Linked DNA regions of Homo sapiens: regions 1 and 3 are each linked to region 2. The links are contacts of gene promoters, found by promoter capture Hi-C in blood cells and fetal thymus (Javierre and others, 2016). All regions are on one chromosome and are shown on one strand. The core of a region is centred on a gene start or on the middle of the fragment in contact, and the rest is flanking DNA. Distances in the headings are between cores, read along the strand shown.

The links. Contacts are between HindIII fragments. The CHiCAGO score rates a contact against its expected background, and 5 or more counts as called.
Region 1: a contact is called between a fragment that was not itself captured here and the fragment with the promoter of EFCAB12 in region 2, in 1 of 17 cell types (M2 macrophages). The highest score is 6.0, in M2 macrophages.
Region 3: a contact is called between a fragment that was not itself captured here and the fragment with the promoter of EFCAB12 in region 2, in 1 of 17 cell types (M2 macrophages). The highest score is 6.5, in M2 macrophages.

Annotation. Positions count from the first base shown.
Region 1 is chr3:129,659,150-129,663,546 of GRCh38, forward strand. All of the region lies in intron 5 of TMCC1 (transmembrane and coiled-coil domain family 1), which reads right to left. Among named protein-coding and RNA genes, the nearest start is that of PLXND1, 55 kb to the left of the region's middle. The HindIII fragment of the contact is 6,636 bases long and covers 1-4,397 here.
Region 2 is chr3:129,426,906-129,431,451 of GRCh38, forward strand. It overlaps EFCAB12 (EF-hand calcium binding domain 12), which reads right to left and starts at 1,731. Exons shown (of 9, transcript NM_207307.3): 1 at 1,535-1,731. The coding sequence starts at 1,583. It overlaps MBD4 (methyl-CpG binding domain 4, DNA glycosylase), which reads right to left. Exons shown (of 8, transcript NM_001276270.2): 8 at 4,042-4,546. RefSeq lists a silencer at 1,868-1,917. The HindIII fragment of the contact is 3,479 bases long and covers 1,062-4,540 here.
Region 3 is chr3:129,643,192-129,647,426 of GRCh38, forward strand. No RefSeq gene overlaps it. Among named protein-coding and RNA genes, the nearest start is that of PLXND1, 39 kb to the left of the region's middle. The HindIII fragment of the contact is 3,721 bases long and covers 1-3,377 here.

The DNA.
Region 1 (4,397 bases), core at 860-3,359, 230 kb after region 2:
AGTGCAGTGGTGCAATCATGGCTCACTGCAGCCTCAAATTCCAGAGCTCAAGGGATCCTCCCACCTCAGCCTTCTGAGTAGCTGGGACTACTGACATGCACCACCAAGCCTGGCTATTTTTTTTTTTCAGAGACAGGGTCTCACTATGTTGCCCAGGCTGGTCTTGAACTCCTGAGCTCAAGCAATCCTCCTGCCTCAGCTTCCCAAAGTGCTGAGACTACAGGTGTGGGGCACCACACCTGGCTATTTTCATCTTTCAAACTATAGATACTTTAAATTTTGTGGTATATTTGCCTTCACAACGTATTGATTTTAACAACAATAAAGGGGGGCAAGGAGGTACACAAAATAGTGGTAATTTAAGAACTATGTAAAATCAGGTGTGAAATATTGGGATTCACTTGGTATGTGAGGTGGTGAGGAATATATATGAATCAGAGAATACTTGCAAAAGTCCTCAGCACTTATTCCCAACACTTTTGAACCTTACAATAAACCAATGTTTATCATAAGAAGGTTGCAAACCTGTCAAAGGTTCTGGAAGTCATTTTCAAACTAGATTTTGGTTCATCCCATATTATGTCTAGAGGTGCTCCATCTTCACTCCTGCCATTTTGCACCTAGAAATGTTTTCATAATGCAGTTTGTACCAGCTAATGCATGTGCTCAGTCCAGGTTTTGGATTAAAATCCCAGCTCTGCAACTCGCTAGCTTGGGTGATCCTTTTCATCCTCTATAAAGAGGAAATCTACCTACTCCAAAGGGCAATTGCAAAGATTAAAGGAGAAGACAGACATCAAATACCTGGCACACAAGAGGTGCTCTGTGAGACAGATATATCACAAATATACATTTGGTTTCATTTTTCTCTTTTGTGAGTCTCCTAGTTCTCCCCAACAATCCCTAGCGAGGTAGTTCAAAAAGATTGCTTGTTGACTGCCACATAGTCTTACTCCACTGTTCACTGATTCCCACTTCTGACTTTTTTCTCTAAGCCTTTGTTGTTGTTGTTTGTTTGAGACAGGGTTTTCTCTGTCGCCCAGGTTGGAGTGCAGTGGCGTGATCGTGGCTCATTGTGGTCTCAATCTCCTAGGCTCTAGTGACCCTTCCACCTCAGCCTCCCAAGCAGCTGGGACTACAGGCATGTGCCACCACGCCCGGTTAATTTTGTTTTTGTATTTTCTGTAGAGACGGGGTTTCGCCATGTTACCCAGGCTGGTCTTGAATTCCTGGATTGAAGTGATCTTCCTGCCTTGGCCTCCCAAAGTGCTGGGATTACAGGCATGAGCCACTGTCCATGGCCTTAAGTCTTCATTTCTTTATGTCCACTTTCCCAATTTTATATATTTTGACATTTTCACTGTTTTCAGTATATTTATGATGTTTTTCCTATGACATCACAGAAATGGGTTTACTGGGCACACACTCCATCCTCCTCAATCCTAGATACAAGCCTCTTTTACTTCTTATTTCATACATCTAGGTTCCTGCCATTTCCCTGGCTCAAGTTTGCCAGATAATTCAAATAGTTCCATGCACTGGCCATTTCCAAACTTTCCTTTGTACTGGTGAAACTATCTACCTATGTATGTGTGTGAGGAAAGGTGTCTCAAGTAATTTTTATTTTTTTATTTTAGAGACAGAGTCTCACTATGTTGTCCATGCTGGAGTACAGTGGTTATTCAGAGGCATAATCATGGTGCACTGCAGCCTCAAACTCCTGGGCTCAAGTGATCCTCCCATCTCAGCCTCCTGAGTAGCTGGGACTACAGACCTGTGCCATTGTGCCCAGCTCAAGTAAATTTTATCTAATTTTTTCAAATCTCCAAAAAGAGTTATATAGAAACTGCTAATCCTCACCATGCTCTTACAGAAAATAAAGTCCTTTAGAGGTTGAACAATTTATTCACAGTTACATGGGAAATTAACAGCAAGTTCTTCTCAAGCTGAGTCTTCCCAAATAAGAAAATGTAACTATTGTTCACAGAGATAATGCTTTGTTAGCAAGCAGCTAAATAGCAAAGCAGCATTTGGGTAAGTAGAATGATCTCAGCAGATGAAACAGACAAACATGGAGACCAATCTGGGCAAAATAGCAAAACCCTGTCTTTACAAAAAATACAAAAATTAGCTGGGCATAGTGGCATGCACCTGCAGTCCCAGCTACTCAGGAGGCTGAGGTGGGAGGATCACTTGAGCCCGAGAGGTCAAGGCTGCAGTGAGCCGAGACTGTGTCACTACCCTCCAGTCTGGGTGACAGAGCAAGAACCTGTCTCAAACAAACAGAAAAACCCACAAACAAAAACAGGAGTCCCAGAAGGATGCAGTGACTCCCTAGTTAGTAGTGAGGTTTAATAAGGATCTGAACCAATTGGCTTGTGCCTGTTATTAGATTATTGTCTTTTTAAAAACTTTTTGACTGGGCAAATTGCTTGACCCCAGGAGTTTCAGACCAGCTTGGGCAACATGGTGAAACCCTGTCTCTACTAAAAATACAAAAAAAATCAGGTTGGTGTGGTGGCATGTGCCTGTAATCCCAGCTACTTGGGAGGCTGAGGTGAGAGGACTGCTTCAGCATGGAAGGCAGAGGTGCAGTGAGCTGAGACTGTGCCACTGCACTCCAGCCTGGGTGACAGAGTAAGACCTTGTCTCAAAGAGAAGACAAAAAAATTCTGTATTGTTAATGAAATGCAAATAACGAAAGGAAAAAAAAACCTGTATTCTAGTTCCCACTGACTTCCCACTATCCCCATTACTAATATTATAATCTTCTTAGCACACTTTATTTTCTAGTGTTTACTTCCTGTCTAAATTCTAAAATGGAGAAACCAGGTACAAATACCTCTATCTTCTCATTAAATATTAACACCAAGCCAAACAGTAGGGGAGAAAAAGGGAAGATACATGTTTTATAGACTTTCATATGTGAAAGTCTTGGGTTTTTTTTAAACCTAGAACTCTGCTTTAAGGAATTTTAACCCCTTTACAGGATGCTAAATAGAACTCTCCAGACACAAATCGGGGCAGAGGAGATGGTGGGTGGGTGGGAGGTTCTTAATCATACAAGAACAGTCATGCCTCACTTAATGATGGGGACACATCTTGAGAAATGAGTTGTTACGTTATTTTATCACTATGTGAACACCATACAGTGTACTTACACAAATCTAGATAGTACAGCCTATGATACACTTAGGCTGTATGGTACAGTCAATTGTTCCTAGGCTACAAAGCTGTACAGCAAGTTACTGTACCATAGGCAACTGCAGACAGCTGTAATACAATAGTGTTTGTGTATCTAGACATATCTAAACATAGAAAAGGCACACTAAAAATATGGCATTACAGGCTTGGTAGTGCATGCCTGTAATCCCAGCTGCTTGGAAGCTGAGGCACGACAATTGCTTGAAACCGTGAGGCAGAGGTTTCAGTGAGCCGAGACTGTACCACTGCACTCCAGCCTGGGCAAGAGTGAGACTCCATCTCAAAAAAACAAAACAAAACAAAAACAGCATTATAAACTTATGAAACAACTGTCTTATATGTTGTTGATCAAAATGTCATTATTCAGCACATGACTATGTGTGATTTTGGCTGGCAAATGATGTTCACGCACCTCCGCTTGGATTACAAGTAGCATGAGATTAATAATCTTATTTTAAGGATTTTTACTCAAGGTCCTTCCTAAATTGTTACAACCCAAAGAGAACCTGGACACTTAAATATGGCATGAGCTTAACTATCAGCAAACAGAAAGCCTTTGCACTGTAAGATTATTTTTTCTAAAAGCAAGTATCATATTTTGGTAGATGAAATTCATCCCCCACTGGAAGCAAAACCTGTTCTATCTACAAAGTATTAAACACATCAAGATTTTGTCGTAGGTAAATAATTCATAAATAAATACTAAACTTGAAAGTGTTTTGGTCACTAGGTCAACACAGTAGTCAACTTCCTAGATCAGAGATGAGCCAGGGGCCTTTTGTGTCAAATTACTGATGAATGGGAGCCTGGGTGAGTACACAGCCTGGGAATGCTTTGACCTGAAGCATTCCTCTTTGGGTGTGGCTCAAAAGTTTGGAGCCATCTCTGAGAACCAATGGTGCTTCCCTAGTTCGGCAATAGGTCACTAGCACAGGATAGCTGAAGAAACTTGTGGAGCAGGTATTGAGAGAAACAGGAAGAACTAGGTCCCAGGAAAAACACCCACAGGCAACTATGGGAGAAGAATGGACTATTTCCCAAATGCATACCAGAGACCCAAAATAGCTTCTGCCAGTGTTTGACCAGAGTAGAGAGACACAGTTGGGGTAGGGAGTATGACTTGCGGTGGGAGTTTGAATAGGTTCCTAGCTGAATTGGGGAGAGTGGATTTTTTTCTCCTTACCTTTTGTTAC
Region 2 (4,546 bases), core at 481-2,980:
GGCATGATCTTGGCTCACTGCAAGCTCCACCTCCCTGGTTCATGCCATTCTCCTGCCTCAGCCTCCTGAGTAGCTGTGACTACAGGCGCCTGCCACCATGCCCGGCTAATTTTTTGTATTTTTAGTAGAGACGGGGTTTCATTGTGTTAGCCAGGATGGTCTTGATCTCCTGACCTCGTGATCCACCCACCTCAGCCTCCTAAAGTGCTGGGATTACAGGCGTGAGCCACCCCACCAGGCCTGGCTAACTTTAAAAAACAATTTTGTAGAGATGGGATCTCACTATGTTGCCCAGGCTATTCTCAAACTCCTGGGCTCAAGCAATCCTCCTGCCTCAGCTTCCCATAGTGCTGGGATTACAGGCGTGAGATACTGTGCCCAGCTACTGACAAGGATCTTAAACTCAACCAACCAAGACTGGATTTGTCTTTGTGCCCCTTCCCCCACTAACTGGGTCCTCTGAGTACGTTCTCTTATCTCTGTGGAAGACATCTCCATCTACCAGGTCCCCCAGCTGCCAACTTGAGAACCATCTTTATTTGCCTCTTCTGTGTTTCCTGACCAACCAGCCCCCAAGTCCCGTAGTTCCCTCTAGCCTGGGCCTTCTCCCTCACCTCCCAGCATCTTTAGCTTGGGCATTTGACCAGAGCCCTGACCTGTGTGCCTGGGAAAGGTGGCCAGCCTCTCCAGCTCTCCCTGTTTCTCCACTGGGCATTAATGTGTTCAGTGCTGGAGAAGCGGCATGGAGAAGACCTTCAGTCTTCAAGCTTTATAGCCCCCAGCTCTCATCTCCCCACACCAACATTCTGAGTCTGCCAACTCAGTCTCAGGTCTTTTCTGACTGCTCCCAATCCAGTCCTGCCACTCCCAGTGGCCTCTCCATCTCCTGGCTTGCAGTATCTTTTATGATCTTGTCCCTTCTGACCTCTCTCACCTCATTTCCAGAGACACCAGACCTCTTGGGTCATGCTGTTTCCTTGCCCGAAATGCTTTTCCTTCCCCTTTTGGCTTGGAGAACTCCTTTTTATCCTTTAAGCTCCAGTGTAAAGATCTTTTCCAAAAGCTTGGAACTGTTCCTCCCCATCCCATACCCTCAGCACACCTTTTACTCCTGGGTGTCATCCCTGGGCCCGGCATTTACCCCTTCTTATTCTGTAATTATCCATTTATCTCTGTCCTTTACCCGTGAAGCTGCATTGCTTTGCCAAGAACTTGGTCCCCAGCACATTACTGCCAAAACCTTGAAGACTGACGTCTTCTCCATGCCTCTCCTCCAGTACTGAATACATTAATGTCCTGCAGAGAAACAGGGCGAGCTGGAGGGCTCCCGTCACATGGGTCGGGCCTCTGGTTCCTCCAACTAGGCTCAGATAGAAATCTCAGAAATGTACATGACCTGCCCCCGACTCCATGGCAACCCTTCACCCAGAGGGGGTCGGCACAATATCTGTGGCTGAGTTTTTGCCCTCACCCCACTTTCACGCGTCCTTAGGGCGCTGAGCGCTCCCTGCAGACGCTTCTTCCCGGGGCTTACCGAGCAGCGACAAGAACAGACTGTGGTACGCTTCATAGTCGTCGTCCATGGTCGTGGTGCTGGGAGGGGGTGCTGAAGGGCGTGTGTGAATGTGTGTCGATGTGGGCTTGCTTGCGTAGGGGTACCGGGGTATCAGATAAACCGTAACTCCAAGTCGTGCGAAAGGCGCTCAGCTCAGACTGCAGAAGCAACCTGTTGCCGTGGCTACGGACGCCCCGCGCCAATTGGCTGAGCGCTGTCACGTGTTAAGAGCGAGCCCGCCCTGCCGAGCGCCTGCTGGCCCCACCTCGTTTTCGTCCAATTCTGGGAGGGGCAGCGAGCAAATCCACGCCCCGCCCAGTTCTGGGCTTGGTGAAAGGCGGGATTTCTTTGTTCGGCCCAGTAGTCCCTGAATCCAGTGTAGAAAGTCTCCGGTTTTCCCGTGAAATGTGGGATCTTCCGCAGGTCTCCATATCTCTAGGCCTCAGTTTTCTCATAGGAAAAATAGGCCCTGCCTCCTCCAGAGGGTTAGGAAGAACCAAAGTGAGCTGTGGCCAGATAGAGGTGTTGGGTATGTTCTGCCCCGCTTATGGCAGGGTGCCATGGTTTGGAGTTACAGAACCTGAGGACCAGAGAATAATAATAAACCCTTGAAATGTGCATCAACTGATAAGCAAAATGAGGTATATCCATAGGATGGCCATAAGAAGGAATGAAGTACATGCTACAATATGGATAAACCTTCAAAACAGTATGCTAAGCAAGAAGCTAGACACAAAAGGCCACGTGCTGTATGATTCCATTTATGTGAAATGTTCAGCATAGACGAACCCACAGACACGGAAAGTAGATGAATGGTTGCTAGGGGATGGGGTGAGTAATTGAAGTGACTGCTAACAGGTGGAGAGATTCTTTTTGGAGTGGAAAAAAGAAATGGAAACTTCTGGAATTAGTGATGATGGCTGCACACTGTAAATGTACTAAACCACTGAACTGTACACTTTAAAATGGTTAAATGGTGGCTTTTAGCTCAATTTTTAAAAAGTTAAAGAGAAACACCTAAGCCCTTATTCCTTTGCTGAGACAAGCTATCTTTGTGACGCTTGCAAACAGATTGTTGCCATGGGCCACATTCACACAGCACTCTTGCAAGCCAGGTACCATTTTAGCACTACATGTCTGAACTTCATAATTACCATCATTGTGTGAGGTAGACACCACTATCCCATTTTTAAAAGACAAGTTAACAGGTACAGAGGTCAGGCAACCTCACCTGCAAGAAACAGGAAAAGCCAGGCCTAGAGCCTGAGCAACCTGGCTGTGTCCTGAGCTCCCCTGGTGCAGAGCTCGCCTCCTGCATTCACACGGGCCCACACTCCCCATGGAGATGCTGGGGGAAGGTATGTGACCACCAGCCCTACCACAAAGCCACACCTGATGCCCTGAGCTTGGTGAGCTCGCCCCACCCTCCAGGCCCAGCTGGGCCCAAGGTTTCAGAGGCCCCTCTCCACCCTCTTTGGGTGTCTTGTCCCTACTCCTTACCGCTTTTGTTCCCTTCCATTATTAGGTGCCCTTCTTTCTCTCTGTGAGGGTCTGTACAGAACTTGTTTATCTTTGTGCCCCTCCCCACCACAGGGCTTTACACTTTGTGAATGCTACTTGGATGTTTGTTAAATGAAAATGTGATGGTAAACTATAAAGTGGGTTTGCCTTGGGGAGAGGGAGGTGTGGCCAGTTTTCCTGTTCTCTGGTCAAAATCTATCCTTCTAAAAACTGACACTCACTAAAGTGGAAACAACCAACTACCTCTGCATCACACTGCAGCCTGATTCGGTTCACACTGCCCTACAACAAAGGCAGTTTCCTGAACAACTGATTTATTTTTCATTTATTCAATCAATTTAATTTTCAAATTATACCTTAAAATGGTAGTTGGTAATTAAGACATAGTAACTAGTTTTTTCCCTTGGTTTCTTTCTAATAGTAAATGCTTTGGTATTTGAACTGTAACAATACTTGTAATAAAAATGGCATTAAGACTTATTTTTTTTAAGACAGGGTCTTGCTGTGTCATCCAGGCTGAAGTGCAGTGGTGTGATCATAGCTCACTGCAGCCTCAATCTCCTGGGCTCAAGGGATTCTCCCACCTCAGCCTTCTGAGTAGCTGGGACCACAAGTGTATGTCACCATGCCCAATTAATTTTTAAAATTTTTTGTAGAGACGGGGTCTCATTATGTTGCCCAGTCTGGTTTTGAACTCCTGGGCTCAAGCAATCCTCCTGCCTCAGCCTCCCAAAGTGCTAGGATTACAGGTGTAAGCCACTGTGCCTGGCCAAATGGTATAAACTCCAAATGGAAGATGAGAAATGAGTTTTCACAAAGGGACCAAGGTAAAAGAGTGAGTGAGCTGAAATGGAGCAGCAGGCCCATATTCACATTAGGTTATCAAATGGATACTGGGGTGGAATCTACAATTCCTAAGAGCTAGTGTGGAGCTGTCAACAATACACAATGCCAGAGGAATCTTATTTGTCTTTGGGGTCAGCTTTTATTTTTATTTTTTAAATATATATTTTTTGAGACAGGGTCTCTCTCTGTCATCCAGACTGGAGTGCAGTGGCATGATCATGGCTCACTGAAGCCTTGACCTCCTGGGCCCTCATGAGCTCAAATGATCCTCCTGCCTCAGCCTTCCGAGATTACAGGCATGCACCACCACGCCTAGCCGATAAAAATATTTAGTGGGCCCCTAGCTTTAGCAAGGCTGATAGAAATTTGCTTTGTATTATTGATAGTTTAGAACTATTTTTCATCTTCTGATTATATTTCATCATTGGAAAAGCCGTATTTTTTTTGGATTGTTGTCAAATAATAATTTATTTTAAAAAAATCTCAAAACATGTTCAAACACATTCAGTAGCAAAGATCCACCATTGGCACACACATTAAGAAAGCACACACACTAGGCTTCTAGTTGGGCTAATTAAAATCTCTATGGCTGGAAAGGTGGTTGGTTGTACTTAATTAAGCTTT
Region 3 (4,235 bases), core at 267-2,766, 220 kb after region 2:
TTGAACTCTGGGCCTCAACCAATCCACCTGCCTTGGCCTCCCAAAGTGTTGAGATTACAGGCGTGAGCCACTGTGCCTGGCCCCATTTGCGAGTTTTTGTTCTTATGGACACGATATTCTTTTCTTGTCCCCATGGCCAGCCCATTCTCTGACACATACTGATTTTTTGGTTCCCCAAACCAACTTAAGAGCCAGGGCTGGCTGAGGATAGCCCAAATTCTGGCTACTGGGCTCTTCGTTGGTAAGAATGGGAGATGTGCTATATTCTGAAGAGAGTTAGATGAGTGACACAGGTGCCTGTCCTCTAGGAATTCTCAGTCTACTAATAATCAAGATCATGGTATAGCACTTTCTCTTGCCAGATGCTGGGCTAGGCTCTGTACAATTTTCATTTAATCCTCATAACCTTCACAACCTTCTGTTAAGGTAAAGTGGTTATTAAAATTCTTAAAAGAGGCCAGGCGCGGTGGTTCATGCCTATAATCCCAGCACTTTGGGAGGCTGAGGTGGGTGGATCACCTGAGGTCAGGAGTTCGAGACCAGCGACCAGCCTGGCCAACATGGTGAAACCCCGTCTCTACTAAAAAATACAAAAAATTAGCTCGGTGTGGTGGCACAGGCCTATAATCCCAGCTACTTGGGAGGCTGAGGCAGGAGAATCACTTGAACCTGGGAGATGGAGGTTGCAGTGAGCCAAGATCGTGCCACTGCACTCCAGCCTGGGCGACAGAGCAAGACTCTGTCAAAATAAAATGAGATGAAATAAAATAAAATAAAATACTTAAAATAAAAACTTTAGACAAGTTAAATTTAACAAAGAATGATTCATGAATTGGGCAGCCCCTAAGACCAGGACAGGTCAGTGAGAGTCTGGGGCTGCCATATGGCTAAGTAACATTTATGGACAGAAAAAGGCAAGTGGTGTATAAAAAATTGAAGTGAGGTATGCAGACCTCACTTATTCTTGTTAAACTTATTCTGGGCTTGTACCTTATTTCAACAGTTGGCTGCCTGTGGTTGACTGAAGTTCGGCTGCTGTGATTGGCGGAGACTTGGCTACTCGTTACAAGAGTAGGTTCCAATCTGCTTATGCCTGGCTAGGTTACAGTTCCCTATGTATGGAGAAACCTTTAGGCCAAACTTAAGATATGTACAGAAGCAGCTTTAGGCAAAATTTAACATAATTCATTTTCATCATGATTTGTTGCACCTTTTAATACAGTCTCGAAAACTATTGAACTGAATTCTTTCAACAGATAAAGAATATTCTCTTGAACAGCTTAAACATTCAGTAAGACAGAAGCATGAATAAATTTTGTCAAGTACTCTTGCTCTGGGATTTAAGGATTGTAATACCAAAGGTGACAGGGATTTTTTTTTTTTTTTTGAGATGGAGTCTTGCTCTGTCGCTAGGCTGGAGTGCAGTGGCGTGATCTCGGCTCACTGCAACCTCCGCCTCCCAGGTTCAAGCAATTCTCCTGCCTCAGCCTCCCAAGTAGCTGGGACTACAGGTGAGTGCCACCACGCCCAGCTAATTTTTGTACTTTTAGTAGTGACGGGGTTTCACCATGTTGGCCAGAATGGTCTCCATCTCTTGACCTCGTGATCCGCCTGCCTCGGCCTCCCAAAGTGCTGGGATTACAGGCGTGAGCCACAGCGCCTGGCCCAGGGATTTTTTTTTTTTAAAAGAACTGAACTCTGAGTTGCCTACACCCTTTTTCCACTTATCAAAAAACTGTGAAGAGCCTCTACTTACAGGATCAATAGGCAAAAGACCAAATACCTTGGACACCATTCCTCAAACACCCAACTGATTGGGATGACCTGAAAAACAGGTTTCTGGTTTCTTCTCAAAGGGCTGTAATTAAACAGAAGGCTGGGTCACCTTTCAACACCTGTAATGGCTTCTCTTGTAGTCACAAGGTAAACCTTTAGCGTGGTATTCAAGATTTCTTGCAACTTGGCCCCCACATATGATTCTCACACATTCTTTCAGGCACCCTACCAGTCACTTAAGGCTCCTTATCCATTGCTTGAACTGCTCACCTAGGCCGTTTTCACCTCTGTGGTTTTGCTAATACCTCCAATAGAAATGCCCCCTCACCTATTTCTGCTCATCATAAAGCCACCATCTTTCAGTCCAGATACCATGGCCTCCTCCGTTGAGCCTTTCCCTATTGCTCTGTTAGAATTGCTTCCTCCTCTTTGCTCCCACACGTCTTCTGCCTCTTTACCACATGTATTTCATTCTACTAAGTTCCTTTTTCCACAGCCCAGTCTTGTATAGAGTGGCTCTTAAGTGCTGCTGGCTAAATAGGAGGTACCAGCTGCTGCTGTCACCTCTGCACGTGCTCCTCCTTCTCAGCCCGCAGGGCTTCTGGCAGCGGGACATCTATGTGACCCCCAAGCCTAGAAATCCAGGGCTGGAAGAAAGCTCAAGGGGTGGCCCAAACTTGGTCTAGAGCCCCCTCTAAGGCAATCTGGAGGCAAAAGATGGTCTAGTATGATCTGTCATTAGGAACACTATCAATTCTTTTTTCACTTCTCACTGGACCTATTTTTAAGTTTTTGATATATTTAATTTAAAAAATACACAAATACATTTTCTTCAAAGAGATTCATACTTTATAGAAGCCAAGCATGAAAGTGCTGCTTAACCACTGTTCCTCCCTCTCCCTTCCCAAAATAACGGGAAAGTTTAATGCAAAGTTTTTACACATCCACATGCATATATTTACACAAATATACATATTCTCAACATAAATGGGAGACAATATATTGTTCCACAGTTGGCTTTTTAAATCTTAATGCACTGATTATACAGGAGGCTGAACAATTTTCTGGTATGCTTATTGGTCATTTTTCTTTTCTTTTTTTTTTTTTGAGACAGAGTCTCGCTCTGTCGCCCTGGCTGCTGGAGTGCAGCGACACCATCTCGGCTCACTGCAAGCTCCGCTTCCTGGGTTCACGCCATTCTCCTGCCTCAGCCTCCCGAGTAGCTGGGACTACAGGCGCCTACCACCATGCCCGGCTAATTTTTTTGTCTTTTTAGTAGAGACGGGGTTTCACCATGTTAGCCAGGATGGTCTCGATCTCCTGACCTCGTGATCCACCCGCCTCAGCCTCCCAAAGTGCTGGGATTACAGGCGTGAGCCACCGCGCCCAGCCGCTTATTGGTCATTTTTCTATAAGCTCTCTGTTTATAACTATTGCCTGTCTTTTCTATTGAGCTGTTACCAATAGGAAAGATGATTATTGATTTGTAGTCTTAAATATTGTGGACGCTCATTTTTTGTTATATATGTCGCATAGACCTATTTTCCATTGCATTAATTTACCATTTCCTAACATTAATTTTGGGCAAGCCATTTAACCCAAGCTTCAGAGTTCTTACCTAAACAATGAGGATATCTCCTGCATAAGACTGTGGGGGAGAATTGACTGATAAAACTGAATGATGTCTGGCACTCAGTAAATACTCAATAAACGTTAGCTATTCTTCACTATAGACTTGGGGCTACAAGTCAGCTAAATGTTTAGTTTGGACCATAGGATTTAAGTATATTTGAACCCTTCAGGTGAAGCATGCATTTCTAGTTGACCATACCTTCCTCTGCCTCCCCAATCTGTTTTCTACACCACAGCTTCTCAAATTTATGTCATCTGCCTTCCACTCTCTGAAGTTTTCTTTTTTTGAGACAGGGTCTCGCTCTGCCACCTAGCCTAGAGTGCAGTGGTGTAATCATAGCTCACTGTAATCTCAAACTCCTGGGCTCGAGTGATGCTATCACCTCAGCCTCCTGAGTAGCTGGGACTACAGGTGCCTGCCACCACACCTAGCTAAATTTATTTTTTGTAGAGATAGGGGTCTCACTATGTTGCCCAGGTTGGTATCAAACTCCTGGCCTCAAGTAATCCTCCAACCTTGTCCTCCCAAAGTTTTGGGATTACAGGTGTGAGAGCCACCACACCCAGTTTTTACTGGCATTCAGTAAGTCTCCAAGGTTTTTAAAGGATAAAAATAAAGCAGGTTTTGAAATTATGTATCGCCCATTATCATGGCAGCTCTATGTGTCCCGTATGCACTACACAACTCCTGGATGTTGTTCACAGTTTATCAGACTTATGAAGCCCCCGCAGGGTTGGGCAATATACAACCTGCATATCTGTACATGGCAGCCTGGCCCATATTTTAAGGGGAATTTTCAAAGATTTCACAAGATGTATCCCTTGCT